Regions from separate parts of the Homo sapiens genome. Here regions 2, 3, 4, 5, 6 and 7 are each linked to region 1. The links are contacts of gene promoters, found by promoter capture Hi-C in blood cells and fetal thymus (Javierre and others, 2016). All regions are on one chromosome and are shown on one strand. Each heading gives the region's core, a stretch centred on a gene start or on the middle of the fragment in contact. The rest is flanking DNA. Distances are from core to core; before and after follow the strand shown.

Evidence for each region. The method cuts DNA at HindIII sites, captures the fragments that hold promoters and counts their contacts. A CHiCAGO score of 5 or more calls a contact.
Region 2: a contact is called between the fragment with the promoter of HSPB6 here and the fragment with the promoter of USF2 in region 1, in 1 of 17 cell types (neutrophils). The highest score is 5.3, in neutrophils.
Region 3: a contact is called between a fragment that was not itself captured here and the fragment with the promoter of USF2 in region 1, in 1 of 17 cell types (neutrophils). The highest score is 5.7, in neutrophils.
Region 4: a fragment that was not itself captured here is called in contact with the fragment with the promoter of USF2 in region 1 in 1 of 17 cell types (neutrophils); the score reaches 6.3 in neutrophils.
Region 5: a contact is called between the fragment with the promoter of RBM42 here and the fragment with the promoter of USF2 in region 1, in 1 of 17 cell types (neutrophils). The highest score is 6.2, in neutrophils.
Region 6: a contact is called between the fragment with the promoter of HAUS5 here and the fragment with the promoter of USF2 in region 1, in 1 of 17 cell types (neutrophils). The highest score is 7.1, in neutrophils.
Region 7: a contact is called between the fragment with the promoter of ZNF792 here and the fragment with the promoter of USF2 in region 1, in 1 of 17 cell types (neutrophils). The highest score is 6.0, in neutrophils.

What each region holds. Positions count from the first base shown.
Region 1 is chr19:35,267,063-35,271,066 of GRCh38, reverse strand. It overlaps USF2 (upstream transcription factor 2, c-fos interacting), which reads right to left and starts at 2,105. Exons shown (of 10, transcript NM_003367.4): 1 at 1,904-2,105; 2 at 1,575-1,621; 3 at 1,368-1,486; 4 at 1,064-1,264; 5 at 470-620; 6 at 262-349. The coding sequence starts at 1,965. It overlaps LSR (lipolysis stimulated lipoprotein receptor), which reads right to left. Exons shown (of 10, transcript NM_205834.4): 9 at 3,333-3,958; 10 at 3,103-3,243. The coding sequence ends at 3,208. RefSeq lists an enhancer at 10-749 and silencers at 1,037-1,356, 1,497-1,686, 2,845-2,994, 3,095-3,164, 3,245-3,324. The HindIII fragment of the contact is 13,161 bases long and covers 1-4,004 here.
Region 2 is chr19:35,755,326-35,759,329 of GRCh38, reverse strand. It overlaps HSPB6 (heat shock protein family B (small) member 6), which reads left to right and starts at 2,301. Exons shown (of 3, transcript NM_144617.3): 1 at 2,301-2,519; 2 at 3,436-3,558; 3 at 3,647-4,004. The coding sequence starts at 2,322. The coding sequence ends at 3,808. PROSER3 (proline and serine rich 3) reads right to left here and starts at 1,154. Exons shown (of 11, transcript NM_001367856.1): 1 at 1,104-1,154. The coding sequence starts at 1,114. RefSeq lists enhancers at 810-869, 910-1,149, 1,478-2,049. The HindIII fragment of the contact is 14,255 bases long and covers 1-4,004 here.
Region 3 is chr19:35,730,578-35,734,581 of GRCh38, reverse strand. It overlaps KMT2B (lysine methyltransferase 2B), which reads right to left. Exons shown (of 37, transcript NM_014727.3): 25 at 3,966-4,004; 26 at 3,715-3,875; 27 at 2,447-2,674; 28 at 1,074-2,367; 29 at 896-985; 30 at 710-819. Among named protein-coding and RNA genes, the nearest start is that of IGFLR1, 9.9 kb to the left of the region's middle. The HindIII fragment of the contact is 6,974 bases long and covers 1-4,004 here.
Region 4 is chr19:35,690,937-35,694,940 of GRCh38, reverse strand. No RefSeq gene overlaps it. Among named protein-coding and RNA genes, the nearest start is that of ZBTB32, 12 kb to the left of the region's middle. The HindIII fragment of the contact is 301 bases long and covers 1,905-2,205 here.
Region 5 is chr19:35,627,392-35,631,395 of GRCh38, reverse strand. RBM42 (RNA binding motif protein 42) reads right to left here and starts at 2,360. Exons shown (of 10, transcript NM_024321.5): 1 at 2,115-2,360; 2 at 1,723-1,876; 3 at 172-256; 4 at 1-65. The coding sequence starts at 2,242. RefSeq lists enhancers at 2,255-2,549, 2,698-2,937, 2,863-3,390. The HindIII fragment of the contact is 21,053 bases long and covers 1-4,004 here.
Region 6 is chr19:35,610,962-35,614,965 of GRCh38, reverse strand. HAUS5 (HAUS augmin like complex subunit 5) reads right to left here and starts at 2,231. Exons shown (of 19, transcript NM_015302.2): 1 at 2,074-2,231; 2 at 1,174-1,236; 3 at 1,066-1,098; 4 at 907-931. The coding sequence starts at 2,171. HAUS5-DT (HAUS5 divergent transcript) reads left to right here and starts at 2,302. Exons shown (of 2, transcript NR_186318.1): 1 at 2,302-2,348. RefSeq lists enhancers at 2,094-2,353, 1,942-2,497. The HindIII fragment of the contact is 7,658 bases long and covers 1-4,004 here.
Region 7 is chr19:34,962,200-34,966,203 of GRCh38, reverse strand. It overlaps ZNF792 (zinc finger protein 792), which reads left to right and starts at 1,975. Exons shown (of 4, transcript NM_175872.5): 1 at 1,975-2,574. The coding sequence starts at 2,542. LOC124904699 (a long non-coding RNA gene) reads right to left here and starts at 2,778. Exons shown (of 2, transcript XR_007067236.1): 1 at 2,531-2,778. RefSeq lists silencers at 2,214-2,473, 2,584-2,633. The HindIII fragment of the contact is 6,406 bases long and covers 1-2,839 here.

The DNA.
Region 1 (4,004 bases), core at 856-3,355:
AAAAAAGGGGGCATGTATTATCGCAGAGCTGTTTGCCCAAGCATCTGCTAAGTATTAGATTTGAAAATTATCTTTGCAAGGTAAATCCATCTGCAAAAACAAAAGACATGATACTTTATGTGCACTAGAGCAGCAGAAACAGGCAAAGAAAAAAAACATTACACCATGTGCCCACTTCATGCTAACTGCCCAGCTTCTACTCCAGAAACCCCTCTTCCTTCCATTTCAACACCAGGCCCTCCAGGTGTCCCCTGCACATACGGAGAGTAAGGGTGTGTCCGGGGGGCGATCGTCCTCTGTGTTCCTGTCTGAAGCACATCCTGGGGCGTCATCATGACGTAGAACTGGCCTGCAGGGAGAGTGGGGGGTTAGTGGCAAGGCAGGGTGAAGTCAGAACTGGCTGGGGGGGCTTCCCTCCCTGCTGGGCCCGTTGCCTCCCCCACCTGCCAATCTGACTTCTACTCCTCACCTCCAGCCTGCAAGCTCTGGTCTGTGGTCTGTACGGACACAGCCGTAGTATCTCCCACACTGGACGCTGGGAAATAGGCAAATCGTGCCTCCCCGCTGACAGCCTCGGCCGCCGGACTGCCACCATTGCTGAAGGGATTTTGGATCACAGCCTGGGGAGTAGGAGGGCAGAGGCTACCCTTAGCTTTCTCTGTTCCTCCATCCCGTCCCCTCATTGCTGTGCTTGGGGTTTACTGCATTCTCTGCAATTAACAGGAGTGGGGACTCCTTCTGCGTGTAGCATTCTGTCCTGTGTTTCAAACAGCCCTGGAACATGGCGGGAGGTCAGCGATCACTTGCTGAGCAAATCCGTTTCGCACTCTAAGAAACTTTCCTCTTAAGACACATCATTCCCATTTTGCGGGAAAAAAAAATTCCAAGAGCACTGTCCCCAGGTTTCACGGTGCACAACAGGGATCTGGCCCCATGCAGCCTGAGGCCTGAAGGCAGCATCCGCTGGGCGACACCTGCCCCACCCCCGGGGCTCCCCAAGAGCAGAGCCAGTGTCCCCTCTCCACTCCCTCCCCCCCCCACCCAGGGGTGGCAGGGCACCTACCAGCGGGAAGGGCGCTGCAGGACCTGGGGGCACAGAGGCAGCGGCGGGGCCCGGGCGCTGGGCTGCCCCGTCCACACCCACCTGGGTCACAGCCTGCTGCCCCCCCGCGAAGGCAGCGGTGGACACGACGCTGACGGCGCCAGCTGTGTCGCCCTGGCCGTCCAGCTGACCATCAGTCACCTGGACTACGCGGTATGTCACCTGCAGGGGGCGGCAGAGCGGCGAGGCCGGCGCTGGGGCCAGGTCCGAGCCTTCCCGGCGCGCCCGCCCGCCCGCCCGTTCGCCCTCGCGGCCCGCCGCTCACCTGTCCTCCATTTGTCTCTGTGCGGAACTGGTACTGGATGTTGTGGTCGCCGAACGCCGCCTGCTGGACGCTGGTGATGGCCACCGCTGTCTGCTCCTCCGCTCCTGGGCCGTCCCCGCCTGGGGCCGAGGAGGGTCGGGGCACGGTCAGGGCCGCGCCGAGCGCCCCCAGCCCTCCCCGGGCGCGGCCGGCCCGGCAAGCACTCACCTTCCTGCAGCTCGACGCCCTCCTCCGCCTCGGGTCCCTTGTCGTGGCTGCCAGGGGCACAGGAGGGAGCAGGGTCAGCGCGGCCCGCGCCCGCGCCCCCGCCCCCGCGCCCAGCTGCAGGGCCCCAGTCCCACCCGGCCGCGCCTGAGGCCGGGGGCGCCGCCGAGGCCGGGGGCCGGGGGCGGGAGGCGCCAGGTCCCCCCCGCGCCGGCGGCCTCCATTTTGAGCCGGGCCCGCGGCCGCTCGGGATCATGGCGGCCCCGGCCTGCAGGCCGCGGGGCCGGGGCCGGGGCCGGGGCGCGGGGGCACGGCCGGGCCGGGGATCTTACCTGGCGGCGGCAGCAGCGGTGGCCGAGGCAGCGGGATCCAGACCCGGGTCCAGCATGTCCATGGGGGGGGCGGGGGCGGGGGGGGCGCGGGGCCCGGGGGGGAGGGGAGGGGAGGGGAGGGAGGGAGGGGAGGGGGCGGGCGGCCGGGGGGGCCCCGAGCCCGGCGCTCACGCCGCGCGGCAGGAGGGGACGGAGGAGATACGGGAGCCGCTCGCGCTGATCACGGGGACAAACAGTGGGGTCATGTGAGGAGGAGATGCCGCCGCCGCCGCCGCAGCCGCCGCCGCTCCTGCAGCCGCTGCAGCCGCCGCCGCCTCCGCCTCCGCCCGCCCGCCGGCTCCGGGCGGCCCGAGGCTCCGGGACGCCGCGCGGCCGCCCCCAGCCCACCCAGCTGCCCGCCCGCTGCACGCGGCCCTCAGGCCTCCTTCCCTGAGCAGCCGCCGCCGCCGCGACTTTTTTTTTTGAACACGGCCCGCCCTGGCTGGCCGCCGCCAGTGCCCTGGATCGCCGGCTCGCGCGGCCGCCGCCCGGCTTGGCCCAGTCCGGCGGCGGATCGCTGCTGCAGCCGCCGCCGCTTTCTATTTTTCCCCCTTTTTTTTTTCCTCCTTTACTTGAGCTGCGCGCGCGCGGCGGCGGCGGCGGCGGCGGCGCGAGCCCCGGGGCGGACGCGCGCTGGGGGGAGGCGGCCCGGGGCGCGCGCGCTGGTCTGTCTCCGGGGGCGGGCGGGCGCGCGCGAGCCCGGGGCTCCGCGGGGCGCGAGGTCGCCGCGCGCCGCCCTGGTGAAACGCGGGTCTGGATGGAACGTCGGGGTACCCGGTGCAGGGGCTGGGGTCGTCGGGGGCCAGGTGGGCTGCCCGAGTTTGGAGACAGTAAAGTAGGTCGGTGGGGGGCTGGGGGGGATGGGCTGGAAGGGGAGAGGAGCGCGCGCGCGTCCCGGACGGCCAGCCTGCGGTGCGCGAAGGCGGAGGGCCGGGGCGCATGCGCACGCCTGGGCGGGGCCGGGGCGCGCACGCAGGCGGGCGGCGGCTGCGCGGGGCACGTTCTCCGGCCGGCGGCGCGGGCGCGGGCCGGGCCAGGCTGGGTCTCTTCCTCCCGGCCCCGGACTCCGGTGCCCCCGGGACGCGGCGCTTTACAGACGCATACGGGAGCAGCCCCGGTCCCCCGCCCCGCGCGGCCGAACAAATGGTTCTCTCCAGAGCTTGTGATTATACGTTTTATTAGACTCGGGAGGGGTATGGCAGGGCTTCATCAGTGTTCCTTCAAATTAAAAAAAAAAATACAAAAGCTACGTAGAAAACGTCAGATCAGACGACTAAACTTTCCCGACTCAGGGCCAAGTTCTGCAAGGGAGAAAGAAAGAAGGGTATGAGCCGCGGGGACCGGCTGGGGGCCCAGGGACGGTCTGGACGCCAGGGAGGGCGGCCCTCACCTTCTTGAGCCTGCGCTCTCGGGACGCCTGCGAGTCGGTCTCCGAGTACGGGGGCGGCGCGGGCGGGTAGTAGGCCTCTTCCTCCTCCTCCTTGTGGGGTCTCCTCCTCTCCTCCGACCCCTTCTTCCTCACAGCCTCCTCCAGTAGCCGCCCATCATAGGGGAGGTCCCCGGACCTGGAGCCGTTGTCCCGAGGGTCCCGGGTACGGTGGTGGTGGGACCTGGGGTCGGCAGGAGGGCGCTCCCGAGACCTGAAGTCGTCGTAGTGGGGGTCCCGGGAGCGTGGGAAGTCCCTCGAGTCGTCTTGGTCATAGAGGTCGTCCCGGCTGCGGCTCCGCGGGGGCATGTAGGCCCGGCTTCTCCCACCATTACTCGTGGGAGACCTGCTCCCTGACTCGGCGGTGCTCGGCGGGGTGAGGTCGTCCAGGGCGTCCACGGAGCGGGCCCGGGGCCGCCTGGCCCGCCAGCCCCCGCCTGCCTGCTCCCTGGCGGGCTCCTGGTCCCATCCCCTGGGACTCCGGGGGGAGTGGCCACCCCACTCCTCATCCCGGATCGGGGTGAGGGCAGGGCCCCGGGAAGGCCGAGATCGCCAGTCGTCCTCGTGGAGGGAGGTGACTTCACTCATGGCTGCAGGGAAGGGGGGTGTCACTGACTGCTGGAGGAGCCCGGGGTC
Region 2 (4,004 bases), core at 1,052-3,551, 490 kb before region 1:
AGCCCTGGGGAGGGGGACATTAGAGGAGGGCAGAACCAGACAATTCCCATAGATTCCTGGAGGAGACGGACTGTCATTTCCATGAAGCACCGTTGCACATTCAGGATATCGACAGTGGAAGGGTGAGTCCTGGGAGCCCGCCCCTGGAGCAGTCTTAACAGGGAGCAACTCAGGAACTGACAGCCGGTGGTTCTCAACCCTGGATCCAGTCTAGGAGGGGCTTTTCAACGTTACAGGCGCGCGGTTCCCATTCCAGACCAACAGAATCAGAATATCTATTAGTGGGGCTGGGCCTCCGTGTCTTTTCCGCAGCGTCCCAGGTGATTGCGAAGTGGAGTTCAGGTTAAGAATCGCGGCTCGCCGGGCGTGGTGGCTCACGCCTGTAATCCCAGCACTTTGGGATTACACCGAGGCGGGTGGATCACTTGAGGTCAGGTGTTCGAGACCAGCCTTACTAACATGGCGAAACCCCGTCTCTACTAAAAATATAAAAAATTAGCCAGGCGCGGTGGCAGGTGCCTGTAGTCCCAGCTACCTGGGAGGCTGAGGCATGAGAATTGCTTTAACCCGGGGGCAGAGGTTGCAGTAGCCAAGATTGTGCCACTGCACTCCAGTCTGGGCCAACAGAGCGAGAGACTCTGTCTTAAAAAAAAAGAAAGAAAGAAAGAACCGCGGCTGGATTATATCACCGAGCATTTCCCATACATTCCTGGGGGACACGAAGGCAAAGGGTAGATGGACTACAAGCCCCAGGATCCACTGGGCTCCGCCTCCGCGAGAAAGTTCAAAGACAACGCCCAGGCGTGTCTGGGGGCCATTTCAAAATGAAGAAATTCAGATCTCAAGCCTTTCTTGGACACCTTTAGAGGCAATAATTCCTTGGGGCCCACTCAGAGAGGAACATAAGACTCTTAGGGGACCCCCGGGATGCTAACGGCTACGGCTGGAGAGGCCAACGGCTGTGGAGCATGTTGGGAATTGTAGTTCCAGTGCGGTGGAGCCCTAGCGACTCCAGACCGTATCCAGCCCGTCCTAGGCTGTGCTGCTCTCGCCGTTGGTCCTCCCCAGCCTCCTGTAGTCCCTGGAAGAGCGATCGGCCTCACCTGCGGTCCATCCCGCGGCTCCCTCCGCGCTTCCGGCCGCTCTGCTCCTTCACCCAACAGGCCCCGCGCGCATCTCCGTCGCTTAGCAACGCCCTATCAGCCCCGCCCCTCTCTGTGCCCGCGCCGGAGGCGAGCGGCCTCCAAGGCGACCAATGAAAGAGAGGAAACAGAAGTACCCGGAGGGAGGTGTTTCAGGATTGGCTGGGACGACTGCCTGCCCGACAGGGCGTGTTTGATTGGAGAACCTGCCGAGTGTAGCAGTAATTGGCAAGACCGTGCACCAATGGGAAGGATCTGAGGCTGGGCTTGCGGTTAGGAGGTGATCTAAAGTACCCTCGCTTAAAAGTCCCGCTTTTTAAGCGCCTTCTTGCTGCAGAAGTCCTGTCCCGACCCCGGTCTAACTACCATTCTTTCTGTTGCAGGGGCAGTGGGGCGGGTTGGGGGGGGGGCGCGCTCTGCCCTCTCTCTAACCGCTATTCCTCCATCAGTTGGGCCAATCAGTCCGTCCCAACGGTCATCTAACTTCTTTCTTGCTGCAGGAGCAGCTGGTTGCATCAGTTGCCAGGTCTGGGCTCCTGGCCGAGGTAGCGGGATCAAAATGAGCTATTTCCAGCCCCAGCGCGCGGCCCCCGGGGGGCCAGCCTGAACTGTTCATGCTCGCGCCCCCTGGCCTCTGCGCACCAGAGGCTGAGTCAGAGGCACAGAATTAGGCCCGGCCTGCCGGGGGACTGGGCCCAAGGTCTGGCTGAGGATAAGGGTAGGGAGGGCCTGTTCTATGTCCTCCTGACATCCTGGCGGGGCTACCGCATTCTCCAGGAATCTGCTCCTAAAGACCTCCATCTGCGTCATCCTCAGAGCTGCCAGGGGGGAGGCAGTGGATTAAAGGGACTGGAAACTCTTCCGTGGGCCTCTTGGGTCCTGGGCCCCAATCACCACGCTGTGCTCCCCACACCCGCAAGGCTCCCCCTCCTCAGCCTTAGTTTCCTCTTCTGGAAATTGGGGAATCTTCATGTCACCTTCTTGACAGCATTTGCCAGGCATCCAGCAGGCGCTTAATAAATGGCCAAGTCATTGTTTGGGTTTCTAAATAAGGCTCTCCTAATGGCCGGGTCTGGCCACGGTCCCAGTGTCCCTGGGCAGCCCTCCGAGGGGCCGGCACAGGGCGCACTATAAATGAGCGGCTGCGCACGCAGGGGCACTGCAACGCGGAGGAGCAGGATGGAGATCCCTGTGCCTGTGCAGCCGTCTTGGCTGCGCCGCGCCTCGGCCCCGTTGCCCGGACTTTCGGCGCCCGGACGCCTCTTTGACCAGCGCTTCGGCGAGGGGCTGCTGGAGGCCGAGCTGGCTGCGCTCTGCCCCACCACGCTCGCCCCCTACTACCTGCGCGCACCCAGCGTGGCGCTGCCCGTCGCCCAGGTGCCAGGCCTGGGGAGGGGTGAACTCGACCACTTCCATTGCCAGGGGTCTGGGGCAGCCTGGGGTGGGAACATGTGAGAGAATGTTCGTTGGCCTTGGGCGGGGTGGAGAGTCCGCAGCTCCGAAGGGCTTCCGGAGTCAATGGGAATCTGAGGCCCGCACACTGCAGCGGGTGGGAGGTCCCCGTCGCTCTTAGGTGGGGGGCGGGGTGGGGGGCTCTCAGCTCTCCAGAGAATGGAAGGCCTGGGTCACTCTAAGGGGAGTCTTGCTTACTCTGAAGGAGGCTGGTGATCCGGGAAATCTGGGGAAAAGGAGGCGGGCAGTGACTCCTGAGGGGAAGGAATGTTCTTAGTCTCGGGGAAGAGTTGAGAGACTGTGTGCGGTGGCCCGATATCTCCAGAAGAGGAGGGGAGAGGGCCCTGCGACTTGAGGAAGGGTTCCCGGCCACTCTGAAGTGGGGGAAGGCTACCAGTAGCTGCCGAGGTCCCGTGACTCGAGTGGGAGAGTAGGCAGAGGACCCTGGAGACGGGGAAAGGGGCATCTTGGCGAGTTTGGCGGGGCTGGCGGAGAAGGGACCCGGGGCTCTGAGGAGGGAGCTGGGGAATCAGTGCCCTGGGGGGCACGATGACTTCGGATTCGCTGACACCGGGGGAGGGCAGAGGTTCCTGACCTTGCAGGGGAAGGGAGCCTCATCACTGCGGGGGAGAGGGCAATCCCAGATATTACAGGGGGAGGGCGTATCCCTGTTGTTCAGGGTGAAGAGGTCCTGGGTGACTCCCAGTAGGAGAGCTGACTGCTCAACTCCGGAGGCCAGAGTGAGCCGCGGCACGGAACCGACGGGGGTGGGGTCTCCCTGGGTGGGTCCTGGAGCCTGGCCCAGCCCAATGACAGTCCCGCCCGCGCCCGCTGCGCTCAGGTGCCGACGGACCCCGGCCACTTTTCGGTGCTGCTAGACGTGAAGCACTTCTCGCCGGAGGAAATTGCTGTCAAGGTGGTGGGCGAACACGTGGAGGTGCACGCGCGCCACGAGGAGCGCCCGGTGAGCCGCGGCGTGGGGCGGGGCTGGAGCGGGTACGCTCGCCGCCGGGCCGGAGGGGCGGGGCCGCTCAAGCCTCCCTCCCCTCCAGGATGAGCACGGATTCGTCGCGCGCGAGTTCCACCGTCGCTACCGCCTGCCGCCTGGCGTGGATCCGGCTGCCGTGACGTCCGCGCTGTCCCCCGAGGGCGTCCTGTCCATCCAGGCCGCACCAGCGTCGGCCCAGGCCCCACCGCCAGCCGCAGCCAAGTAGGAGGGGGCTGGGCCGCGCCCGCACCCCGGGAGCCTCCTCAGGCTCCCTCTATTAAAGCCGATCTGACTCCGCCCAGCCAGATGTCCCGAGTGCGCCAAGGACTGTCCTCTCACCCACTCCTGGATTCTGCCCTGACCTCCATCCTGGACACTGCCTTGATAACATAGACCCTTCCACTGACACCCTCGCTCTCACA
Region 3 (4,004 bases), core at 1,505-4,004, 460 kb before region 1:
CCACCAGGCCTCTTCCCACTGCCTTTTCCATCCCAGCCTGCCCTTCCCTGCCATCCATGGCTCCGCTGTCTTGGCCCTCACACCAAGCACCTCCACGCTGCTCGCCCACCTCCCGCTCCCGATCCTTAGCTGAACTCTGGCCAAGTGCTTGGGCTGTTTTGCCTTCTTCAACCATGGTCTCAATTCTGGACTTGGACACAACGCCCCACCCTGTGCCACCTGCTCTCACTGGACACCAACGCTAGACTCCACAGGCCTGGCAGTCTCTGTGGCAGCTGAGATGTGACGACTCCCTTCCCTGGGCCTCTGGGACACCACTCTTCTGATCTTCCCACTGTCCCTGACCCTCATCTCGGTGCTAGCTGGGCTGCATTCCCTCTAGATGATCCTAGAACTTCACCTTTGGCTACTCTAGGAAGCTCTCTCTCAGCTCCTGGCAGGCTAGGCTCTGAGGCCCTCCCCTAGGCTCTTGGGCATGCTGGACAAAGACCCTTAAAAGGATCCCACGTAGAGGCGAAATGTCATTTCCATGTCTGTTTCTCCCACAAGGCCAGAGGCTCCCCAAGGTCATCTCTAACTCTAGCACCGAGCCTCAGGCTTGGCCCCTGGGAGTAGATACTGGTTTTGAAAGAGGGCTGATTTTGCATCTGTGAGTCACCCAGCTGAGCCAGGCACAGGCAAGGAGGGAGAGGGCAAGGCCGGTCCCTACCTGAATAGTGGTGCCACTGGGACTCAAGCAGCAGGTCTGGGGGACCATCGGGGACCTGGGGAGGACCATCTTCCGGAAGTGGCAGCAAAGGGGACCGTTCCTGGAGGGGCCTGCGAGAAGAGACCTGTCAGGAAGGGGAAGGACAGAGGTCCCAGACCCTCCAGGGAGAGGGGCCTGGCCACTCACCCAGGACTTTCTTCCCCAGCGGGCTCCCCAGGCCGATCCAGGTCAAGGACCCCACGCACTGTGGGGGTTTTCATCCTCACACGGCTAAACCTGGGAGGGCGAGCCCGAGAAGGATGAGCCGCATCTCCCGCCCATCTGCCCCCTTGCCTGCTCTGCCAGCCTCAGCACCCGCACTCACCCGCCACTGCCAAGCCCTGGAACCTGAGGGGTATCCTCTGAGGCCTCTCCATCTTCATCCAGCCGGGGGGCTTTGTATGGGGGAGGTGCTGGCGGGGACCGGCCGGAGAAAGTGGACACCCTCTTGACGCGGATGGCCTGGCGGGGCGGGCTGGCTGGCCCACTGCTCAGCACCAGCGTCAGGGGAGGGGGTGGCGGGGGCGGGGCAGGGCGGACCACTCCGACCACGGGCAGCACGCCGAGGAGGGGGCCTGGGGGCAGAGTCCAGGAGGTGGGAGCCGTGGGGGAAATGGTGGGGGGCAAAGGTGGCTGCTTCACTGGGGGTGGGACAGGTTCACCCTCCCCAGCCATCTTCACAAATACTTGCCCCAGCTTGTTGACAAGTATGATTTTGGATGTGGCGGGTTTGGGGGGCTCAGGGGCAGGGCCAAGGCTTAACACCCGGACCCCTGGGGCCCCTGGGAGCCAGGCAAATGTGCGGGTGGGGTCAGCTGGGCTGGCGGTCAGGCCTTGGGAGGGCTGGCTGCCATTAGCCAGGGGAGGCGCCGGGGGGAGTGACTCCTCTCTAGGGCCAGCACCTCCATCCCCAGGACCCCCTAGGTTCTTCAACACAAAATCCACAATTTCCGATGGCAGGTCCTCAGGAGGCCGGGCCCTGTCCCCTGCAGCCCCAAGGACCCCTGCCCGGACTACTCCTGGCCCCGAAGGAGGCGTGCCCTGGCCCCGAGGCTGCTGCACCGCCTCAGCCTCACTGTCAGTGCCGTCGTCCACGCCGTCCAGCTGTTCAATGCGGGGGGCTCCAGGGGTAGCGCTGGGGGCCAGACCAGGGGCGGACACCACAGTCACAGGGAAGTGGATGTAGCGGGAGGTGGGGCTGGACTCCTCCTCGGAGCTGTCCCCCGGGCCCCCGTGGCTGCTCCCCATGGCCCCAGCGGCTACAATCTCTTCCTGGAAGGGCTCAGTCCCCAGCAGGCTGGCCGCGAAGTCCAGGTCAGCAGCACTCAGTCCTGACACCACCTCCATGTCCTCGAAGTCTGGGCCCAGGTCTTCAGGGGGTGGTGGAGATGGGGCCGGGCCAGGGGGAGCCAGCTCCCCTGAGGTAGGTGTGAGGGCTGTGACGACTGAGGTAGGAGGGGGCACCCTGAGCTGAGGGGAGGTTTTTAGAGGAGGGGAGGCCCACCGTGATGGAGGCGGCCTGGGAGCCAAAGGGCTGGGACGACGGGAACGTCTGGGGGGAGCTGGGAAGTCCGGGTCTCCCACTGTGGGGATGTGGTGGGTCAGTGAAGATGGACTTCCTGTGGGGGGAGGGTTGGTGTTACCAGCAGCTCCCACCTCCGCGGCTCCACCCCCAACCCCCACATGCCCGGTGCTCACCAGGGGAGGGCAGGGGGCCAAAGGAGACACCCCCCAAGGGCCTCCGGGATGGCGAGTAGTTGGGCACTTTGATTCGAGCCCCCGAAAAAGAACGGGGGGCTGGAGGAGGGGCGCTGCCTGAATCTGGCCGCAGTGGAGGGTCCAGGTTCTGAATGGGCGAGTGGCGCTCAGGAGCTCCAGGGACAAGAACATCTGTGTCCAGTGGGGGGTCCTCACCACCTGGGGGCTCTGAAGAGGCGAGAAATGGCATTGGGGTGGTAGGGGCTCTGTGTCAAAGCCTGCCCACATGCTCTCATCCTGAGCCACTATGCCTCCCAGGTCCCCGACCCTGACCCAGTCACAACAGGCCCCAGTTTCCAGTGACCACCCAGGCTAAACCCACCGTGGAGTTGGCAAAACCTGCACACACCTGGGCCAGGGGGCCTTCAGGGCCTCTCCCCACTCGCTCCTTGCCATCTCCTCTCTGCCTCTGCTGCAGGCTTTGCACGCCATGGGGAACTGCCCTCCCTCCAGCACGGCCAGTCCTACCACTTTCTTACTTGCCTGGTGCATCCAAGCCACATCAGACGCTCCCGCCCGCCCCGGCCCGGAGGCTCTCCATTACCTGGCTCCACCCAACCTCTGCAAACTGATCTCCCTCCTCCACCCAAAACTCCCTGGTTTCCAGACGGGATGGGTGTACCCTCCTCCTCTGTCCACTTCTTGTCATGCTCCAACCTGGAATAAAGCCCTTCCTACCATCCAAATCTCTTCTGCCTCCTGCTCTGCCCACAATAACCTCTCCCCCATCTCCAAGCCCATTCTTTGCCCTGTGCCATCCAGCTCTCAGCCACATCCCACAGCCAGTGTGGCTGTAAGGGGGCCGGTTTGGGAGCTGAGCAGATGCAGTTCCAATTCCAGCTTCCCTAGCATGTTACTGTGTTCAGCCACTGTCCCCTTCAAGGTGTAGTATGGCGACACTGGAGAGCGCTCCATGAGCACAGTGCCCCAAGTTAGGGAGCTGTAAGCACTCTACTCCCTGCAGTCGTCCAAAAGCCAGTACCCCACCTCAAGTAGGCAGCGTGCCGCTCTCCCCACCTCACTTCCCATGAAAAGCCGGGCACAGCCCCTGGCACACAAGGCATGGCAGTAAGCGAGCTGCCGTTACATTACAGCAACTGAAGCAAAAGCAAGCCTCCTGGACTTTCCAAAAGGGAGCGGGGAACAGAGATCTGTAGGTTTGTTTAGGGAGAGCGGTATTCAGGAAGAAGACAGAGCCAAAGCCACACCTGAGGAAGGGGCGGGGCTGTGCACAATGGTCTGGTTCTCCTCTGCAGCCTCCAGGTGAGCTGGCTCTTCCCTCGGCCCCCATGGCCGATACTCCAGAATTCGGCACCGATACCAGCAGCGCCTCCGAGCATCCACTGTGCTCCAGTACAGACGGGAGCACCTGGCATGTGGGATAAGACGGTTAGGATGCTTGGGAAATGGGATCCAGCTATGGAGTCCCCTGGCCCCATGGATCACCCCGACCGCTCACTGGTAGCCAATGGGGAAGAGCCGTCCCTCGCAGTCCGAG
Region 4 (4,004 bases), core at 806-3,305, 420 kb before region 1:
GATATATATATATGTATCTTTTCTTTTTTTTTTTTTTGAGACAGGGCCTTGTTCTGTTGCCCAGGCTCCTGGCCTCAAACAATCCTCACATCTCAGCCTCCCAAAGTGTCCTCAATTTTCTGAATGGATTTTTATGAGAGGAACTTTAATACCAGGGATCCTATTTTGGTCATTTTGTCCAGCAGGGCTGGGAGCAGCTCTTCAAAAAGACCATTTTCTTGTCCCTTTACCTTCCCTGTTTTGCATGATTCTGTTTCCATTTGTAGAGGATCTGAGAAGGCAGCTGATTCTGTGAGAAACAATGATTCTACTTCATGTTTTAAATAGATCTGTTGGGTTAAGTGACAAGTCCCTAGCTAGACTCAAGAAGGCACTGGAGAGCTATGGTCCTGCCACTGTACTCCAGCCTGGGCGACACGGTGCGATTCTCATTTTCTCTCTCTCTCTCTCTCAGACAAAGTCTCCCCCTATTGCCCAGGCTGGAGTCCAGTGGTGCTACCATAGCTCACTGCAGCCTCGAACTCCTGGGCTCAAGTGATCCTCCTGTCTTGGCCTCCCAAAGTGAGGGATTACAGGTGGGATTACAGGTGTGAGTCACTGTGCCTGGCTGAGACCCCGTCTTTTAAAAGAAAGGGGAAGGGGGAGGAGAAGGGGTAGGAAGAAGGAGGAGGAGGAGGAAGAAGGCGGAGGAGGAAAGAGGAGGAGAAAGAGAAAAAAGGAGGAGGGAAGAGGAGGAGGGTGAAGGAAGGAGAAGGAAGAAGGAGGAGAAAGGAAGAGGGATGAAAGAAAAGAGGAGGGAGGAAGAGGAAGAGGGAGGAGGAGGAGGAAGGAAGAGGAGGAGGGAGAAGGAGGAGGGAGGAGGAGGGAGGAGGAGGAGGGAGAAGGAGGAGAGGGTGGCAGTGGAGGTCACTCCCTATAATGTGGAGCATAGCAGCCACCTGCTGGTCACAGCGCAGTAGGAAGAACACAAAGCCCTGGAGTGAGGCAGAGGGGCCCTGGCTCCTCAGTGGCTCTCCAGCGCCCTCTATTGACAAAGCCTAACCTGGCACCAGATGACAAATGGAACTGAGAGGTAATAAATTGATAACCCACAGGTAAGTGATGGGGCCCCTGCTATTAATAAAAACAACAGTAATAATAACGACTACCATGGAATTCTCAGTGCTGTCTGTGTCATTTATCCCGGAATCGCTGGTGAAGGTTGATGGGGAGGGGGGATTGTGGTCCATTTGCCTCCAGGGTCGGCTCACCCTTCCCTAGGCTCAGGCTTAGGGTCTGAGCCTGCTCTGGGCAAGCACCCTCTCCCTCCTCCCAGACCAGACCCTATAGATGGAGCTGACTCCATCCCTGCTCCAAGGGCAGGCGTGTGCCCCGGAATCTGCACTTTCCCCAGCCCCACACGTGATGGCACAGCACAGTGTCAAACCTAGACAATGAAAAACATTCCAGAGGGGGCACCAGGCCCTCTCACCGTTTTTTGCTTTGTTTTGTTTTGTTTTTGTTTTTTGAGATGGAGTCTTGCTCTGCCACCCAGGCTGGAGTGCAGTGGCACGATCTTGGCTCACTACAACATCCACCTCCCAGGTTCAAGTGATTCTTCTATCTCAGCCTCCTGAGTAGCTTGGATTACAGGCACATGCCACCACATCTAGCTAATTTTTGTATTTTTAGTAGAAACAGGGTTTCGCCATGTTAGCCAGGCTGGTCTCGAACTCCTGACCTCAGGTGATCTGCCTGCCTCAGCCTCCCAAAGTGCTGGGATTACAAGTGTGAACCACCATGCCCAGTCATCTTTTTTTTTTTTTTTTTTTTGAGACTGTTATCTGGGCTGACAGAGTCAGTGGTGCCATCTTGGCTCACTTCAGCGACGACTGCCATACTCAAGTGATCCTCCTGCCTAAGCTTCCTGAGCAGCTGTGATGCAGGTGCTTGCCACCATGGCCAGCGATTTTTAAAAATTTTTTTATTGTTTTGTAGAGACAGGGTCTCACTATGTAGCCTAGGCTGGTCTCGAACTCCTCAAGCGTTCCTCCCGCCTTGGCCTCCTAAAGTGCTGGGATTACAGGCGTAAGCCACCGCGCCCCCCCGCCCGGCTAGGTTTTTGTTTTGTCTTTCATTCTTTTATTTTTCTCCTTAGCACTTATTAGCCTCTAACATGTGTTTTTCTTATTGGTTTTATCTATTTTCCCCTCTAGAAGGTAAGCTTTATTTATTTATTTATTAAGCTCTTTTAAATCTGGGAAGAGTTCCTGTAAGCTTTATTATCTGATTCCCAGGAAGCTTGTAGCCATTTTTCTAACACCAGCCAAGGACGCGGGGACCAGAGAGGAGGAATTGGTGGGCGTGGGACACCTGAGGAAAGGGCAGGGGTGTGTGTTTTTACGTTTTAGTTAAAAAAAAAAAAAAAGAACCAACTTGCCCTCATGGAAGGAGTGTAAGCAAAAGTGGATGTAGTCAGAGGCATGTGCCTGGCTTGATTGCTATATAACACAGTTTCTTATTTCCATTCTGTGATCTCAGATGGTGAGAGAGAGAGCTTGGCTCAGTGGAGCAAGAGAGAGAAAGAGATACCTGGAGAGGTGGCAAGGGGCCAAGCCACACGGGCCCTCAGTGCGAGGTGAGGAGGGCGCTGGAGAGCCGTGGAGGGTTAGAGGCTGAGGAGGGATGCAGTCACCTGGGGTGTGGGGGGAACAGCCATCAAATGGCTGCCTGTCCCTCAAGGGGTCCGGGCCCTGACATAGCCCTGACCTCTTTGCTCCCCTCTTACCCACAGGAGCCGGCCTCTGAGTTTGGGGGCTGGGGCGGACAAACCTGTCCTGCAGGCAGGCCCGCCTGGGTGAGGCCACGCTGCTGCCGGTCTGACTGAGCCACACTCTGCAGGTATATGGTAGGATGGAGCCCGAAAGCCAAGTGGCAGATGTGGGTCAGAGATGGCGGCCTACCTACCTGACTGCCCAGAGGTCAGAGGTCAGGTCAAACCCCGGCCTCCCATCTAGCAAGTCCTGGCCTATTATTATTATTATTGAGACGGGGTCTTGCTATTGCCCAGGCTGGAATGCAGTGGCACCATCACAGCTCACTACAGCCCCTACCTCCTGGGTTCAAGCGATCTTCCCACCTCAGCCTCCCGACTAGCGGTTACTACAAGTGCGCACCACTATGGCCAGCTAATTTTTAAATTTTTTGGAGAGATGAGGTCTCACTATGTTGGCCAGGCTGGTCTGGAAATCCTGGCCTCAAGCAATCCTCCTGCCTCAGCTCCCAAAATGCTGGGATTACAGGCGTGAGCCACTGTGCCCAGCCCTGACCTGTCTTACTGAGAGGTGACAGCGTGCTGGCAGTCCTCACAGCCCTCGCTCGCTCTCGGCGCCTCCTTTGCCTGGGCTCCCACTTTGGCAGCACTTGAGGAACCTTCAGCCCGCTGCTGCACTGTGGAAGCCCCTTTCTGGGCTGGCCAAGGCCGGAGCCGGCTCCCTCAGCTTGCGGGGAGGTGTGGAGGGAGAGGCGCAGGCGGGAACCGGGGCTGCGCGCGGTGCTTGCGGGCCAGCGCCGAGTTCCGGGTGGGCGTGGGCCCGGTGGACCCCGCGCTCAGAGCGGCCGGCCGGCCCCGCCGGCCCCGGGCAGTGAGGGGCTTAGCACCTGGGCCAGCAGCTGCTGTGCTCAATTTCTCGCCGGGCCTTAGCTGCCTTCCCGCGGGGCAGGGCTTGGGACCTGCAGACCGCCATGCCTGAGCCTCCCCTCTCCCCGTACCCCGTGGGCTCCTGTGCGGCCTGAGCCTCCCCGACGAGCGCCGCCCCTGCTCCACGGCACCTAGTCCCATCGACCACCCAAGGGCTGAGGAGTGCGGGCGCACGGCGTGGGACTGGCAGGCAGCTCCACCTGCAGCCCCAGTGCGGGATCCACTGGGTGAAGCCAGCTGGGCTCCTGAGTCTGGTGGGGAGGTGGAGAACCTTTATGTCTAGCTCAGGGATTGTAAATACACCAATCGGCACTCTGTATCTAGC
Region 5 (4,004 bases), core at 1,111-3,610, 360 kb before region 1:
CAGGAACATGGCTTCTCGAGCCTCTGGGCTGTCCAGGTGACTCCGATCACCAGGGCCAAAGCCAACTGTTGGGAGGGGAGAGGCAAGGATGGTGGGAGGAGAGTCCTGTGCACACCTTTTTACCACCCTGCCTGATTGCCCAACCCCCTCACCTTGCTACTCTTTACTTACCAGGGCCTACAAAAGGAGGGCCACCCACCATGGGAGGAACTACTGTGGCTGCAGCAGCTGCTCGGGCCTCCAGAGTCTGCTGGACCTGTCGAGGAAGAGGTCAGGGTGAGGGGCCTGACTCAGCATTCCCATCTGCTGCGGCCAGCTCACCCCAAGAGACCAAGAGCTTCATGCTTTGTGCTCTGTATGTGGCTGGCTATCTCAGGTCTTAGCTAAAATGCCACTTCTCGGGGAGGCTTTTTGGATCACACTAGGGCTCTCTGAGCAGCAACTTCTCTCACCACCTTATTTCATCTTCCCCACAGCACTTAGCACCCACTGAAACTGTGTCCAACCTGTCCTCCCCATCTCCCATGCACAACCTCCATCCAAGCCACCATTAACTCCTGTCTAGATTACTGTACTAGCCCCTTCCTCCATCTCCTGGCTTCTGCCCTTGTCCCTTACAGTCTTTTTTTTGAGACGGAGTCTCGCTCTATTGTCCAGGCTGGAGTGCAGTGGCACGAGCTTGGCTCACTGCAACCTCCGCCTCCTGGGTTCAAGTGATATTCCTGCCTCAGCCTCCGGAGTAGCTGGGATTATAGGCGCCCGCCGACACGCCCGCCTAATTTTTGTATTTTTAATAGAGACGGGGTTGCACCATGTTGGCCAGGTTGGTCTTGAACTCCTGACCTTGTGATCTACCCGCCTTGGCTTCCCAAAGTGCTGGGATTACAGGCGTGAGCAACCGTGCCTGGCCACCAGGGTTCTTAAAATGGCCATAAGGCTCTACAAGATTTGGCCTCACCTCTCTGTCCTTATCTCCTCCCACTTTCCTCTTTGCTCACTCCACTGTCACTGGTCTCCTTGCTGTTCCTTGAACACAACAACACAACAGGTATGCACCTGCCTCAGGGCTTTTTTTTTTTTTTTGAGACGGAGTCTCGCTCTGTCACCAGGCTCCAGTGCAGTGGCGCAATCTCAGCTCACTGCAACCTCCGCTTCCTGGGTTCAAGCGATTCTCCTGCCTCAGCCTCCCAAGTAGCTGGGACTACAGGCACGTGCCACCACACCCAGCTAATTTTTGTAATTTTAGTAGAGATGGGGTTTCACCATGTTGGCCAGGATGGACTCGATCTCTTGACCTCGTGATCTGCCCGCCTTGGTCTCCCAAAGTGCTGGGATTACAGGTGTGAGCCACCACGCCCAGCGCCCAGCCTATTTTCATCTTAATAATTTCTCTCTCTTTCTCTACTAGTCATATATAGTTGGCTACTGAGCACTTGAAATGTGACTAATGAGAATAACGAACTATTAAATATAAATTTTAAATATATCAGAACAGTCTCGTCATTGCAGAAAGCTCTACTGGACAACATGTTCTAGAATATAAGCTCCCACAGGGCAGAAATGTCTCTCTCAGTCATTACTGTGTTCTCAGTGCCTGGCATATAAAATATTTGTCATGCTAATTAGTCAACAAGCCAAAACGTCAACAGCTCTCTGTACACAAACACCTACTCTGTTCGAGGCATTGTGTTCCCTGACTTACATGCCTTAGCTCAGCCGTACCTGCTGGTATGTGTTGGTCGCGATAATTGGGCGGATCACAGGAGCCGCTGGGACCTGCATCGCTTCTACTGTGGGGACCGTGGGGACAGTGGGCACCGCAGGCACAGCAGTTGGGATTCCAGGTACTGGAGCCCCCAGAACTTCCTGCTCAAACCTGGAGGAGTAGAACAGACATCAGCGCTCAGGACCTCGTACCAATTTTGGAACTGTGGGTATATCGCGAGGGGACCCTCACCCCTGCCAACCTCTCCCCTATCCCCGCCCCCACAATCCCGAAGGTCCCACTTCCCCATGTTAGAGCCGTATCTCCGGCCTATCGAGGCCTGGAGGCTCCGAGATTCGGTGGCTCTGGCTCTGGGACGACTTTTATCACTCTCTGTCGCGGGCCTTACAGGGCCATCTCCGCCTCCATTTCCTTCAAGCGTTCCTCGCCGCTTTTGCCCGGGATGCCAGCGCCAGGACCCGGGACCACGGGTCCTCCTGCACCCGGGAGTCCCGGGGCTGGCCCCGCCCCAGCCATCGCTGCCGTCGTCGCTGTCGCCGCTACTACAGTCTCTGCTTAGCCGCCGCCGCTGGTTCTGCTGTCTACTCTCCCCCTTCGTCCGGGTGGGCTCCCGAGGATGACGTCCAGCAAAAGCGACGGGCGCTGGCGCATGACGTCATACATTCGGGCGCGAGAGCCAATGAGATTTGGCCACACCCTCAGGGGGAATATAGGCCAATCAGAGTGAGAGAAGGACACACGAACGCAAGAACCTGGGCCTATGAGAGCACAGCGGAGAGGCGGCCCCGCTTTCCTGGAGGACCACCGGCTAATGAGAGCGAAGCAAAGTCAGTTGGGCCCATCCCCAATGTGGAATCTGGACCTTTGAGATCGCAGGAAAGTTTGGAGGACCCTCCTGTGCCACCGCAGAGCCCGCGCCGGAAGTTTAAAAAGACGCTAAAGTCCGTGTCAACCCCAGGGTTGGGCAAGGCTGGGAGGCCTGGCTGGCCCCTCGGGGCCCCTATCCTGGAGTAGGTTGACACCCGACCTGTGGTTTCCAGGAAGACCGGAGACGCCCGGGAGGAAGCGCCTGACCCGGCTTCCTGGAGGAGGACAGCTGAAGACATTTAAAGATGAGAGCTGTTCAGGGTGGGAGCCAAGGCCCAGAGACTAGTGCAACTCAGAGGAGCACGTCCGTGGGCTTGGTCCCTGTCCTTTCTTGGGCCACAGCTGACCCTTTTTTTTTTCCCGTAGCCCTCACAAGTGTTTTATTCTGAGTATTTTCAAACATGCACATTAAGGGGAATAGTATAACGCACTCTTAAGTACATCTCAAACGCTACCAATATTCAACACTTCTGGATTTCACTTGATCTATACTTCTTTGTCACGCGCGTCCGTGTGAAGAGACCACCAAGCAGGCTTTGTGTGAGCAACAAGGCTGTTTATTTCACCTGGGTGCAGGCGGGCTGAGTCCGAAAAAGGAGTCAGCAAAGGGTGGTGGGATTATCATTAGTTCTTACAGGTTTGGGATAGGCTTATAAAGTACATTCTCAAGGGCGGGGAGAATGTTACAAAGTACCTTCTTCTTTTTTTTTTTTTTTTTTTTGAGACGGAGTCTCGCTCTGTCGCCCAGGCTGGATTGCAGTAGTGTGACCTCGGCTCACTGCAACCTCCACCTCCTGGACTCAAGGGATTCTCCTGCCTCAGCTTCCCTAGTAGCTGGGATTACAGGTGTGTACTACCACACCCGGCTAATTTTTGTATTTTTAGTAGAGGCGGGGTTTCACCATGTTGGCCAGGCTGGTAGCAAACTTCTGATCTCAAGTGATCCACTCGCCTCGGCCTCCCAGAGTGCTGGGATTACAGGCATGAGCCACTGCGCATGGCCTTATACTTTTCTTATTTTTATATTTTTTTGCTGGAGTATGTTAAAGCAAATTCCAGACATCAACTCAGTCATAAATGCGCCATTATGTCTCCTTAACAGATAAGAACTATTTTTTTTTTTTTGAGACGGAGTCTCGCTCTGTCGCCCAGGCTGGAGTGCAGTGGCGCGATCTCGGCCCGGCCGATAAGAACTATTTTTAAAAAATACCATTAACGCTGGGCTCAGTGGCTCACACCTGTAATCCCAGCACTCTGGGAGGTCGAGGTGGGCGGATCACCTGAGGTCAGGGGTTTGAAACCCGCCTGGCCAACATGGTGAAACCCTGTCTCTACTAAAAATACGAAAATTAGCCGGCCGTGGTGGCGTGCGCCTGTGGTTCCAGCTACTCGGGAGGCTGAGGCAGGAGAA
Region 6 (4,004 bases), core at 982-3,481, 340 kb before region 1:
TCAACTGGTGGCAGAGGGTTTTTGCTCAGCAGTTTCTGTGTCTGACACAGAAGCATTAGGGTATTGGCTCCCTCCCTCCTTCCTCCTAGGATTGTCTTACCCACACTTCCAGCCTGTTTCCTGTCTGTGCTGGTGACAACCACATCTTTGTCCCAGTACTGATCTCTTCCCGGAGCCCTGCACCTAGAAGTCCCAAGGCCTCCTGGAAGCCTCCCCTTAGGTGTCATATGAGCCCCTTGCACCCATTGGGTCCCACACTGGCCTCAGCATCTCTCCCATACCTGTCCCATCATCTCTTCTCACCAGCTTTGATGCCACATATCCAGGTCCCACCTCTCTGCGCCCAGCTAATTAATGCTCTTTATTTATTTTTTCTTTTTTTGAGATAGAGTCTCGCTCTATTGCCCAGGCTGGAGTGCAGTAGTGCGATCTCAGCTCACTGCAACCTCTGCCTCCCAGGTTCAAGCGATTCTCCTGCCTCAGCCTCCCAAGTAGCTAGGATTACAGGCGTGTGCCACCACGCCTGGCTAATTTTTTATTTTTATTAGAGACAGGGCTTCACCGTGTTGGCCAGGCTGGTCTCGAACTCCTGACCTCAGGTGATCCGCCTCCCAAACCACATCTTTGTCCCAGTACTGATCGCTTCCTGGAGCCCTCAGGTGATCTCATCACCTGAGATGAGGCCTCAGGTGAGCCTCCCAAAGTGCTGGGATTACAGGTGTGAGCCACTGCACCTGGCTGAGCTAATGCTGTTTCCACTGGACTTTAAGCCCTATGAGGATGGAGATCAAGGCTGTCTTGTGACCCATTGTCCCCAGCATCACCCAGCACCTGGTTGGGCTTAGAGCAGAAGATCTACAAGTCATTTTTCGGATGAAAGAGAATCTTGTAGCATATGCTTCTCACCTGTGGACTGTCCTGGTGGCCATACCTAGGAAAACGAGGCCAGAGTCAGCGGATGAGTGGGGCTTCTAGGGGGGAGGGCAATAGGTGTGATGCTGTGGTGGGGACAGGGCTAAATGGGAGTGGGGAAGACAGGAGGGGATAGCTTTAAGAAGCAGTTACCAGAGTAGGTTTCCCCGGATCTTCTTGACAGTCCTACAGTGCAGAGGCAGAAAGAGGAGTTACTATGGGCCTCACCTGTGCCCCCTCCCCTGCTCTAGCCCAGCTTACCTCTGACTGTGCACATGCTGCAAGATGTAGGCCCAGATGTCAGCCCCCTGGCCCAGACACAGCCTGTGGGGACAGTGTGTAAGCATATGCCTGGGGCAGCACACAGGGTGTGGGATCCTCATTCCTAGGGTGATGGTGGTAGGGAGTTTTTACTAGGGAGTTCTCACTTCTTGAGGAGGGAAGGCCCAAACTTTTTTTTGCCTTTTTTTTTTTTTTTTTTTTAAGAGACAGTCTCGCTCTGTCGCAGTGGTACGATCATAGCTCCTTGCAGCCTCAACCTCCTGGGCTCATGCGATCCTCCCACCTCAGCCTCCAGAGTAGCTAGGACTACAGGCAGGCACCACTACACCCGGCTAATTGGTAAAACATTTTTTTTGTAGGGACTGGATGTTTGCACTAAGTGTGGTGTTATTCTCATTCCCTGGGAAGGCGGGTGGTGGGGGAGCGCGGGAGAGGCGGGTGCTCCCTTTCTCCTGGGAGTGGGTTATCCCAGTCACATCCAGAGGTGGAGGTGGGGGATGTACTGCCAGGAAGTGCCATCTCATGACCAGACGTGGGGCATCACTCCTACAGCTTCAATCCCCGATGGGGTGGCCACGGCTAACTCCTGAGTGTCCTTCTTGGTTAGGTTAAGGGAGGGAGGGGAGGTGCTGCGGGGACAGCCTCACTCTGGAGATCCTATTTCCATAAGGAGCGAGGTCTTAGCTAACTCGTGGAGGATCCTCACCAGTGCTAGGGACCTCACTCTGGGGAGCCTCCCAGGGTAGGGAGCCCTCAGTAAGTCGGGTCACTCTCGATGGGGAATTGGGGGGAGTCGAGTCCTCAATGAGGGGTGGAGTTCTCACTCCCGGAGACTCAATCTCCAGGGTGGGGTGTCCTCACTCCAGGAGCGGTCCTCACCTGCGCAGCGTCGATTCCGGGGCCCGGGCCGCCACGGGCACCCCCATCTCTTCGACCGCCCAGCAACCCAGTTCCCGCGCTTCCTGCGCTAGCTCCATGACAGCGCCGCGGCGGCGACACCGCCTCCCTCAGCCTCTTCAAGTGTGGCGCCCGCCTCTGACGTCACGGGCGCGCCAACAGTGACGTCATCGGTTGCCGGGCAGACAGCGGGCTCGGGCGCTGCATAGTAATCTTAGCGCGGTCAGGCTGGGTCTTGCAGCGCTCACTCTTCCCAGGTAGGTCTCCTTGAGTGGAAATGAAAAGGGCGTGGAGAGACTGCAGCCCCGCCCGCCTTCCCTCGTTCTCCCGCTCACTACCAGCTAACCCGAAAGAGGCAAAACAGTCCTTGATGCTTCCATTTATTTTCTTTTTCTTCTTTTAACTAAACACTTTTATTTTAATAGAGATGGGATCTCACTTGTTGCCCAGGCTAGTCTCAGCTTCTGGGCTCTTGAACTCCTGGGCTCAAGCGATCCTCCCGCCTCGGCCTCCCAAAATGTTGGGATTACAGGCGTGAGCCACCACGCTCACCCCCTTTATTTTCTTGACAAAATGGGACTTGCGTCCTAGGAGGACTGGAACCAGGCAATGAGATCCTGGACTTACTGCTCTTTGATTTCAGAAACAGGTGTCTCATGTCTGAGTGGAGGGTAGGGGCAGAGAGCATGACCCTAACATTTCCCTGGCATGCGTTTTCCCATTCATTCGTGCTTACCATTCCATAAACTCAGGGAGCTGACCCTGTGCTGGGTGATGCTGGGGACACCATGGTGACCACAACAGCCCTGGTCCCTATTGTACGGAGCTCACAGTTGAGTGGGGAGACAGACGCACCACCAGGTAGGGGTGGTAAAAATAAGCAGCAGGGGTGGGTCAATTTGGGACACAGCAGGTGTGAGAGGTCTGCGCTAGACCAGCAGTCCCCAACCTTTTGAGCATCAGGGACTGGTTTCATGGAAGACAATTTTTCCACAGTCTGGGGGATGGAGGGTGGGAGCAGTGGATGGTTTCGGGATGAAACTGTTCCACTTCAGGTCGTGAGGCATTATATTCTCTGTCTCTCTCTCTCTTTTTTTTTTTCTTCCCTGTTTTTTTTTTTGAGGTGAAGTCTCCCTCTTTCACCCAGGCTGGAGTGCAGTGGCCCGATCTCGGCTCAGCGCAATCTTTGCCTCCGGGGTTCAAGCGATTCTACTGCCTCAGCCTCCTGAGTAGCTGGGATTACAGGCGCCCGCTACCATGCCCAGCTAATTTTTGTATTTTTAGTAGAGACGGGGTTTCACCATGTTGGCCAGGCTGGTCTTGAACTCCTGACCTTAAGTGATCAGCCCATCTCAGCCTCCCAAAGTGCTAGCATTACAGGTGTGAGCCACCATGCCCCGCCTAAGCATTAGATTCTCATAAGGAGTGCGCAATCTAGATCCTTCGTATGCACAGTTCACAATAGGGTTTGCGCTCCTGTAAGAATCTAATGCCGCTCCTGATCTGGCAGGAGGTGGAGCTCAGGCAGTGATGCTCACCCATACGCCACTCACCTCCTGCTGTGCAGCCTGGTTTCTAACAGGCCATGGACTTGTATTGGTTCACGGCTTGGGGTTTGGAGACCCCTGCCCCTGCCCTAGATGAAATACTTCTCTGATGCTGACTAACCAACCATGCTTAAAAGCAAGGCCCGAAAGGATCAAGCTATTATTTAGCTGCATTCCAGAACAAAATTCAAGAATATTTATAGAGATTAAAAAAAATCCAGCATCCAACACTGTAAAATTAACAATATCTGACATCAGTAAAAAATTATAAGGCAATGGCTGGGCGTGGTGGCTCATGCCTGTAATCCCAGCACTTCGGGCGGTTGAGGTGGGAGGAATGTTTGAGGCTAGGAATTTGAGACCCAC
Region 7 (4,004 bases), core at 726-3,225, 300 kb after region 1:
TAGAAGCAAGATGGAGTTGGTTAGGTCAGATCTCTCACTGTCATAATTTTCTCAGTTATAATTTTTACAAAGGTGGTTTCACCATATGACATGTAGTATCGGGGGAACCCACCCCCGATAATTCAATGTGGGTTCTTTTCTATTTTCCCTAAGTGTCGGCTGGTCTGAGAAATAAAGGGAAAGAGTACAAAAGAGATAAATTTTAAAGCTGGGTGTCTGGGGGAGACATCACATGTCAGCAGGTTCCGTGATGCCCCCGAGCCATAAAACCAGCAAGTTTTTATTGGCAATTTTCAAAGGGGAGGGAGTGTACGAATAGGGTGTGGGTCACAGAGATCACATGCTTTAAGGGCAACAAAAGATCACAAGGCAGAAGGTCAGGGCGAGATCACAAGGTCAGGGCAAAACTAGAATCACTCATGAGCTTCCATGTCCTGCTGTGCACGCATTGTCATTTATAAACATCTTAACAGGGTTCAAGAGCAGAGAACTGGTCTGACTAGAGTTCGCCAGGCTGGAATTTCCTAATCCTAGCAAGCCTGGGGGCGCTGCAGGAGACTAGGGTGTGTTTCATCCCTATCTACATGTGCATAAGGCAGACACTCCCAGGGCAGCCATTTTAGAGGCACTGCCCTGGGAATGCATTATTTTCCCAGGGCTGTTAATTATTAATATTCCTTACTGGGGAAAGAATTCAGCGATATTTCTCTTACCCGTTTTTGGTAATAGGAGAAATATGGCTCTGTCCTGCCCGTCCCACAGGCAGCCAGACTTTAAGGTTATCTCCCTTGTTCCCTGAAAATCGCTGTTATCCTGTTCTTAAGGTGCCCAGATTTCATATTGTTCAAACACACATGCCCTACAAACAATCTGTGCAGTTAACGCAATCATCACAGGGTCCTGAGATGACATACATCCTCAGCTTACGAAGATGACAGGATTAAGAGATTAAAGTAAAGTCAGGCATAGGAAATCACAAGAGTATTGATTGGGGAAGCGATACATGTCCATGAAATCTTCACAATTTATGTTCAGAGATTGCAGTAAAGACAGGCATAAGAAATTATAAAAGTATTAATTTGGGGAACTAATAAATGTCCATGAAATCTTCACAATTAATGTTCTTCTGTCACGGCTTCAGCAGGTCCCTCCGTTCGGGGTCCCTGACTTCCTGCAACAATGTAGTGTTATTTTTCCCATTTTATTTACTGGATTTCAATGAGAGTCCCTGCTGTAAAGTTGGAGCCAGCATTGGAGTCCCCAGAGGGCTTGTTAAAACAGAGAAGGAGGCCTGGCACCATGGCTCACTCCTGCAATTCCCAACACTTTGGGAGGCCGAGGTGAGAGGATCACTTGAGCTCAGGAGTTTGAGACCAGCCTAGGCATCACAGGGAGATCCAGTCTCTACAAAAAATTTTAAAATTAGCTGTGTATGATGGTGCACGCCTGTATCCCATCTACCTGGTAGGCTGAGGCAGGAGGATAGCTTGAGCCCGAGATGGAGGCTGCAGTGAGCTATGATCAGGCCACTGCACTCCAGCCTGGACAACAGAACGAGACCCATCCCCCCCGCCCCCCCCGCAAAAAGTAGAGAAGGCTGAATCCCATCCCCAGAATTTCTGAGTCCTTAGATTTAAGTTGTTGCCCCAGAACCTGCATTTTCAGCCAGTCCCCAGGTGATGCTGATGTTGCTGGTTTGAGAAGCCCTGAATCAGAGCGACATTTAATATTACAACGCAAAGACCCCGCCCATTGGGTACTATCCCCATTTTCCAGTGTGAATTTAGGTCCCTTAGGGGTGAAGCGGCTGGCCGATGCCCACACGCGCAGGAAGAGCACTGGGGCTCTCCTCCTGGACCTCGGAGGGTGGGCGGGGTTTAGCGCGGGCGGCTGCAGGCTCGGGAGCGGCCCCTTTAAGGGGAAGGCCCGAGGGCTGCAGGCGGCGGCGGTGGAGACCCGACGAGATCCGCTCTCCTTCCCGCCCTGGACCCTCAGCCTGACGAGAGGCTGGGCAGAAACTCGCGATCCCCAGGCCCTGCCTGTGCACCAGCGGCTGGCGCCAGGCCAATGACAGTACGGGAGAGGGCAACTCTCCCGGCCGCCACGGTGGGGGCCGGAACTTCCTGCACTGCAGCCTCGCAGGTCATTTCCCGGCGGGGAGGCTGAGTCCCCAGGAGCTGGGGACCCCGAGTTGGGGGCGGGGCGGCTGGGGCTACGCCCGTGAAGCTGCCCCGCCGGCTTTCCCGGACCGCGAGGGGGACAGTGAGGCCGGGACCCCCTCCGCGCCTTTGCACCAGCCGTGACCCCTTGCAACGGGGGTACCCAGCGGAGCTGCGCGCTCTCGGCGCCCCCGGAGCCTGCGCCCCGGGCCCCTTGCGCATTTTGCACGGGGGAGACTGAGGCTAGGAGTGCGACCCTCAGCCCGGGGTCACACCTCGTCTGGGGCACGGCCAGGTGGGTGGTAGCCTCAGCCTGCGAGACCCCCTACCCCCGCCCCGTGGTTTCCCGCACCGTGGGGCCCTGCTCTGACCACAGACTCCGATGGCAGCGGCGGCGCTGCGGGACCCCGCGCAGGTGAGTGCTTGGACGTTAGGCCCTTCGCTGTCGGCCCCCCACGCTTCTGTTCTCGGTGTTGAGACGCAAAAGATGGCTTTGTTCTAGGACTTTTCGCCTTTCCCATTTCCTTGCTTTTGAGTCAGGGGACCCTGGAAGGGAGTTGCTCCCAGCTAGGATCCTGAATCAGGGCAGGGTTTATATAAAGTGGCTTCCGTTGCTGAAATGTAATGGGATGGAGGGAGAAAGGGCTTTGTAGGCACAGGAACCAGCGTGCGCAAAAGCTTGGGGGTGGGGTGGGGCACGGTGTGGAGACTGAGTTGGGAGTGTTCAAGGAACCCCACCCAGGTCAGTGTTATTAATATTATGTCTGCTGGAACCAGAGAGCAGGTGGGCTGAAGACAGCTCAGAACGGCAGAGCTGGGCCTCTGTTCTGAGGGTGTTGGGAGCCATGGAAGGTTTAGGGCAGAGGAGGAAGATGCTGTGACTCAGGTCTTAACAGGCTCCCTGTGGATGCACAGTGGAGAACTGAATATGGAGTGAGCCGCAAGCAGGGATGCCAAGGAGTAGCCTAATGGAATAGCCCAGGCCAGTGCTGCGGCTGGCCGGACCAGAGTGAGGACTGGAGGTAGAGGAAGTGATTGGGAACTTGATGTCTTTTAAGTCAAGCTGACCAAATTTTCCGATGTGGAGGGTGAGAAAGAGGAGGGAAGAATCCATGGTTTTTGGTTTGATGAATCCAGCTTTATGAACTGAGAAGTTGGTTTTAGGAGGAATTTTCCATGGAAGCAGTAGAAGTTAGGTTTTGGCCAAGTTGAGCCTGTGATGTCCCAGAGACCCCCAAATGGAGTTGAAGAGTGGGCCGCTGAACACACAGTTCGGGTGTTCTGAGGGAGTTGTTAAGGTAATGAGAGACTGGATATTCATTCGAACAATGGCCAGATCATGTATACAAATAGAACTCTGCCCCAGAACCTGCCCAGGAAACCAACCCCCTTATCTACAATAAACAACCCATACAGCAGGAAGCCAGCCTGCTGTCTGTCAGACCCACAGGAAGCCAGATTGCTATCTGGACTGACAATCCAGGAAGTAAAAACAATAACTTCTGTAATGAGCAGTCCCAAATGGCCAGGGTTTGATTAATAACAGACAGCTTTCCTCATTTTTGCTCCTGCTTCTGATTTAAGAACAACCAGAGAAAGGCAGATACGCACCCTAACCAATCACATAGGATGCCCACTTCTAGTTCACCCACCTACGAACAGGAGCCTCCAACCAGGGCACGCCTGAAGCCTTCCTTTTCTTTTGCTATAAAACTCTCCCACTCCCGGCTTGCATTGAGTCTCTCTTGCTATAGTGAGCTTTGAGTAAGTAGCCTTGGCTTTTCTCATTTCATTGGTCTTTGTTTATTTCAACAGTTAGAAACATCCAAAATGTGACATCTGGTG